Regions from separate parts of the Homo sapiens genome. Here region 2 is linked to region 1. The links are contacts of gene promoters, found by promoter capture Hi-C in human tissues and cell types (Jung and others, 2019). All regions are on one chromosome and are shown on one strand. The core of a region is centred on a gene start or on the middle of the fragment in contact, and the rest is flanking DNA. Distances in the headings are between cores, read along the strand shown.

What was found. Contacts are between HindIII fragments. The study calls those that stand out against the background at their distance.
Region 2: a fragment that was not itself captured here is called in contact with the fragment with the promoter of STRAP in region 1 in 1 of the 25 tissues and cell types used here (lymphoblastoid cells).

The regions. Positions count from the first base shown.
Region 1 is chr12:15,880,738-15,883,937 of GRCh38, reverse strand. It overlaps STRAP (serine/threonine kinase receptor associated protein), which reads right to left and starts at 1,551. Exons shown (of 10, transcript NM_007178.4): 1 at 1,119-1,551; 2 at 262-397. The coding sequence starts at 1,230. LOC102724146 (a long non-coding RNA gene) reads left to right here and starts at 1,640. Exons shown (of 6, transcript XR_007063230.1): 1 at 1,640-2,158; 2 at 2,739-2,831. RefSeq lists enhancers at 1,474-1,593, 1,904-2,133. The HindIII fragment of the contact is 37,030 bases long and covers 1-3,200 here.
Region 2 is chr12:14,266,573-14,269,687 of GRCh38, reverse strand. No RefSeq gene overlaps it. Among named protein-coding and RNA genes, the nearest start is that of ATF7IP, 98 kb to the left of the region's middle. The HindIII fragment of the contact is 4,901 bases long and covers 1-3,115 here.

The DNA of each region.
Region 1 (3,200 bases), core at 302-2,801:
TTTGTTAATGCAGATTCCTGAGTCTCAATCAAAATATACGGAATAAGTCATTTAGGCCTCTGAAAATTTTGAGAACCACTGAAGACAAAGAAGCACACAGGACCACGATGGACCACGATGGAATTTTGGTGGGATCAAACATGCGTTCTGTATGGCAGCCAGTGAGTCAGAATTTTATGAATATCTGACACTGAAGTTTTTGATTATTTCAGGACACAAGCTACAGAGAACACCAAAGTTAGCCATCTTGGCTACACTTACGCTGTGAAATCTGCAGCTGCTGTAGCTGCTTTGGTGGCATCCTTATTCAGTGTTGCACCCCAAACAGCACCTTTATGACCCAAAAATGTTCCAATCCAGTCTCCTGTATCTCCCTGGCGTAGCATAGGTTTACCATCTAGAAAATATTTTTTAAAACATGTAATTTATAAGTTCAGATTACTTAAAGTCTAAGATTCAAATGTAAATATACAATGATGTTCAATGACAAAGTGGAAAAATTGTTTCAGCTATTTAACTACCACCACCCACTGAAGGCACTAAGGAATGTGCAGTAATAAATTAACTGAAGAGCTGAACAGATCATTCTCTCTGAAAAGCATCTGTAATTGGCTGGGAATACTGATCTGCGTCAAAACAATCTAGATTTTAGTCTTATTTTGGACAGACATCTTAGCCTGAATCTCAGTTTCCCATTTGAAAAATGAGGCTAATACCACAAAGGAATATCCAGTGAGACAAGAGCGAACGTCTTTGTAAGGTATTGCACGGCCTGGCCTAATTTCTCCTTTCCCCAAATCCTTGAAAGCTATTTACCGTGTTGTCCCGAGAGTCTAGGCAAATGCTGACCAGCTCCTTCAAAAATAGCAATAAAAATAAAATAAGGAGAGAGGTCTTAGTTGGAGGTAATAGTTTCTACAAAAGCGTCCTCTCGGCTCCAGCTGCGGATTCCCTAACACACTCCTTTCTCCACCGGACCAGTGTTGGCTCTCATCTCAGATGTTAATATCGCCCCCTCCCCCCTCACCACACCACCGCTTCGGCACTGGAGCGTGCGGGTCCCGATCCCTTTCAGCCCAGTCCCAGCCGTCGAGGACCAGGATTGCGGCCTTGCTCACCTTTGCAAGCGCTGATTAAGAAATACCCATAAGGCGTGATGCCACTGAAGGCCAAATCAACCACGGGTCGCGTGTGGCCAGAGCAGGTGAGCGGCGTCTGTCTCATTGCCATGGCGGCGGCGAAGCCAGCGACCGGACTGGCGAGCTGAGGGTCGTCGTTGTCTTTTCTCTCTTCTGCTGCAGTGCCTCGGGCTGCTCCAGGCCCCCGCCCTGACACTAGGGCTGGGCTGGGCAACAGGAAAAGAAGGGCAATCCGGTGGCACCGAGGTTAGGGAGGGGTGAGGGAGGGGTCAGGGAGTCTGCGACCAGCAAGCAACAGTCGACGAGGGAGGGAAAGGGAGGGAGGGAGGAAAGTAGGGGATGGGGAGAAGCGGAGAACCGGGCCAGCCACGATTCACAGCGTCCACACCGGCATCGGCAGGAAGTGACGACGTAAATGACGCAGAGCACCCGCCGGAAATGACGATTGGCGGGAGGGCGGGCTCGCCGGGTAGAAGTGACTTGAAGAAAGAGCGAGAAGTATAGAAGGGCGCAGGCGCTAGTTCAGTGCTCGTGAGGTAACTGGCGCTGGCCCACGCCGACTAAGGGAGACGCTCTAGGCACCGGGATGGGGTCCCTGTCCCCGAGCTCTAGCGGGTCAGAACGCCTTCCTGGTCCGCGGCCGAGTTGAAAGTTGTTCCCACTCCCATAAGTCCAAGGACCAGCGTCAGCTGTGTACCTGCCGAGCAGCCCTACTGAGGACTGTGCTCGGCCTCTGAATATCTAGACGGACACGAGCCATACCCAGTGACGGCCCAAACCAGCGAACGCTGTCTGGCAACGTTTTTTGCAATTTGTCTTATTTAAAAACCATATACGGGCTTGGAGTGGTGGTGCCTGTGGTCCCACCTACTTGGAAGGCTGAGGTGGGAGGATAACTCGAGCCCGAGAGGTCGACACCGCAGTAAGCGGTGCTCGCGCCACCGCACTCCAGCCTGGGCAACAGAGCGAGACCATGTATTAAAAAAAAAAAAAAAATCCCCAGTCATTTCTTCCGCTGTGTAAGTTTTCCTATGTTGCTAATGTTTTAGGAGTGGATACTATATAGTTTTAAATGCGATTAAATTCAAGTTACTTTTTCCTTGGTGGACTTCGGAGAACTCTAGAGTCGTAGATCCCCAATTTTTTTGATGAAATACTCTCATCCGTAAAGTGAGCCTTCACTCATTTTATAAGCGAATGAATGCTGAATTCTATCAAAAACTTTTACACCTTTTGATATGATGTATATATGAGTGATGATTTGCAAATTACATAGATGTGCATTATAATACATGGACAAAAATAGAAATATTAAAATAATATTTAAATATAAACAAACTCTGATATTGTCTGCAGCAGGCAGCCCACTGTGGCTCTGTGAAACCACCAGAGCTGTTAATTGTTGATACTGTTTCCTAACCAGGAGAGGGCTTTTCTCTGGGCAAGTTGTATCTTTATTGATAGAATGTAAACCCAATACAACAGAGATTTTTGTGTTTTCTTTGCTACTTTATCCCCAAGGTCAAAACGTCTGGGCACATAGCAATAAATATGTAATCAACATAAATGTCTGTGAATGTTTTCTTCATCTTTTTGCAGCAAACACCGTCTACAAGATTCGAGTCAAACAACGTGAGAACTTGAAATACGTCTCCATTCTTTTTCCTTAGTACTCTCGTTCATTCACTTACGGTAAAGCACTTACTATATATGTTTTTCATTTTATCTTGTTCGACTCCTCCTTTGTGCCATCCTCTCCCTTTTGTCTCACACATACGCACCACTCACACATTTATGAACTCCTTAATGGCAATGGTTATGGCTTTGTCATTTGTACTCTAGTGCCAGAAAAGTGAATGGCATTTAGTGAATACTCAGCATGACTGTTTACTGATTAAATAGATTGTTGCATTACTGATGGAGGTAAATAAAAGACCCACTCAAAATGACACAACTGGTCAGATACTGATACATGTTCATTTATTGCTCATTGTGTGTAGATAAGAATATAATTGGTAAGTTATGGTACATACTTGGCTCTAAAGAATGTATTATTTCCTG
Region 2 (3,115 bases), core at 114-2,613, 1.6 Mb after region 1:
CCTGCCTTGGAGTGTCTGCCAAAATACAAGTGACAGTGGTTGACTCCCTAGCTATAGCAATCTCTGAATAAATAGAATTTGCTTGTTCTCATTTGGTTTGTCTTAGTTTTTTTCCACATTCTGTCCACCCTTGTAACTTTCTATTTGGGGGACTTGTATTTGATATTATGCCTTATTCTCTCCATCCACTTTGTCCTAAAGTGGATGACATACTATTTTAGAGTTCCAATTGTAAAAATGCCTTTTATCCCTGGATAAGATTGCATTTTGATCCTTTTAATCTCAATGAGCCAGAAGTTTTAGGGCACCAAGAGAAAAAGTCTGGAGGGTTTCATATGTCCTTTTCCCCACTATCAAATGCAATCACAAAACAGTATTTCAATATTATCAGTACTGCTTTTGTTCCTATCCCTTATCTGAAGTCGAGAATCTTCAATTGTTTAAAGTTTCCTAGTTAAAGTTTCCTAGTACCTTCATATAGCACTGCTTGCTAGGTGTTTGAGGACAGGAGACTCTTGACTGCCTACAGGTTTACCATTGAGTCTCTACAGAGACTCTTCTTGGGAAGGCGAGTGAGTGTCTTGGCCTTTTTAGGGTCCATGTGACAGAGTGTAACTTTCTTACGACTTATCAGACTGGTTATTTGTTTGTTCTTGCGGACCTTGAATATCTGAGATAGGTCTCAGTCAATTTAGCAAGTTTATTTTGCCAAAGTTAAGGATGTGCACCTGTGACACAGCCTCAGGAAGTCCTGATGACATGTGCCCAAGGTGGGAAGAATACAGCTTGTTTTTCTTTTTCTTTTTTTCTTTTTTGAGACAGAGTTTCACTCTTTCGCCCAGGCTGGAGTGCAGTGGCTGATCTAGGCTCACTGCAATCTCCACCTTCTGGTTTCAAGCGATTCTCCTGCCTCAGCCTCCCAAGTAACTGGGATTGCAGACGCCTGCCACCACACCTGGCTAATTTTGTATTTTTAGCAGAGATGGGGTTTCACCATGATGGCCAGACTGGTCTCGAACCCCTGACCTTGTGATCCGTCCGCCTAGGCCTCCCAAAGTGCTGGGATACAGGCGTGAGCCACCGCTCCCAGCCCACAGCTTGGTTTATACATTTTGGGGAGACATGAAACATCAATCAACATATGTAGGATGAACATTGGTTCAGTCTGGAAAGGTGGGATGACTTGAAGCAAAGGCAGGACAACTCAAAAAAAAAAAAAAGGTGGGACCACTCAAAAAAAGCAAAAGCAGAGAGGAGGCTTTCAGGTCATAGGTAGAGAAGAGACAAATGGTTGCATTCTTTTGAGTTTCTAATTAGCCTTTCCAAAGTAGTCAATGAGATATGCATTTATCTCAGTGAGCAGAGGGATGACTTTGAATACAATGGGAGGCAACTTTGCCCTCAACAGTTCCCAGCTTGACTTTTCCCCTTAGCTTAATGATTTTTGAGGCCCCAAGATTTATTTTCCTTTCACATTTTCAACCTTCATTCTCACACTTCTGTGCTCTGCTGTGTGTTAGATTCTGTAATCTACATTTACAAACTTTTGGTCAGATTCTGCCAATGGAAAGAGATTAAAAGGCAAGAGGGAGGGAATTGTGACTCTCTTTTTCTAGTTTTGAGCAGTTGAAAAAGCAGCTGTTTCCAGCAGTTCCAGCACTACACACCAGTGATAAAAGAATGGAGGCGGCAATAGCGTTGATGGCAGGGGCAACATTAGTAGTGAAGTCTGGGGCAGACGAAGCCACGGGGACTCCGACAGCAGCCTGCGCTTGCAGGCTCCTGGGCTCCAGTTCAGGTAGCTGGGCTTCAATAACAGAAGCCTTAGCTGCATGCACCCTTGGCCTCTGCTCAGTGATTTTGCTTCCCCAGTCTAGAAATGGTTAGTAGTTACTACTCATTGAGTAAGCTTCTCGTCCTCTGGACTTCCCAACATTAACTAATTCCTTCATTTAAATCTCTACTGGTTGAAATGACTAGAGTGGGGTTTTTTTCCTCCTTAATTTGCATAATGAATGATAGGCTCCTCTCTTGGTGAAATCCAGTTAAAATTCCACCATAGTAGAATCTCAGGGCATCTTTCTTTGTTTTGTTTTATTTGAAATATAAAGGAACAAGTTTCCCTCTTATTTCTTTGGGAAGATATCTGCCTTAGAGAAATAAAGCCACTGGCAGTGGATTTGCATAGATTATTCCTTCTCCCTGAGCACAGATATGTAAATATATTCCAAGAAGGGGCTTGGTGACTTTGATCTACTCTATTTAAGATTAATAGCAGCCGGGGCACGGTGACTCACGCCTGTAATCCCAGCACTTTGGGAGGCCGAGGCGGGCGGATCACGAGGTCAGGAGATTGAGACCATCCTTCCTAACACGGTGAAACACCGTCTCTACTAAAAATACAAAAATTTAACCAGGCATGGTGGCATGCGCCTGAAGTCGCAGCTATTCAGGAGCCTGAGACAGGACAATCCCTTGAACCAGGGAGGCGGAGGTTGCAGTGAGCCAAGATCCTGTCATGCCACTGCACTCCAGCCTGGGTGACAGAGTGAGATTCTGTCTCAAAAAAAAAAAAAAAAAAAAAAAGCCCTGGCCGGGCGCATGGCTCACGCCTGTAATCCCAGCACTTTGGGAGGCCGAGGCAGGCGGATCACAAGCTCAGGAGTTCGAGACCAGCCTGGCCATTTGGTGAAACCCTGTCTCTATTAAAAATACAAAAAAATTAGCCAGGCGTGGTGGCGGGCACCTGTAGTGCCAGCTACTTGAGAGGTGGAGGTTGCAGTAAGCTGAGATCGCACCACTGCACTCCAGCCTGGACAACAGAGCTAGACCCGTCTCAAAAAAAAAAAAAAAAAAAGAATAATAGTCCTTTGTGTAGGCAATAGTCCCAGCTACTCTGAAGTCTAAGATGAGAGTATCCCTGGAGCCCAGGTGTTGGAGGCTACAGGGAGCTATGATCACACCGCTGTATTTTAGCCTAGATGACAGAGCAAATAACAGTCCTGATATTTTAGTACTCTTTTTTTGTAAATTTAAAAGAAAAAAATAAATAACAGAATAAGAAATTAGAAAATAATAATTACATGACCAGGACCAAACTTCACATGGAGACTTT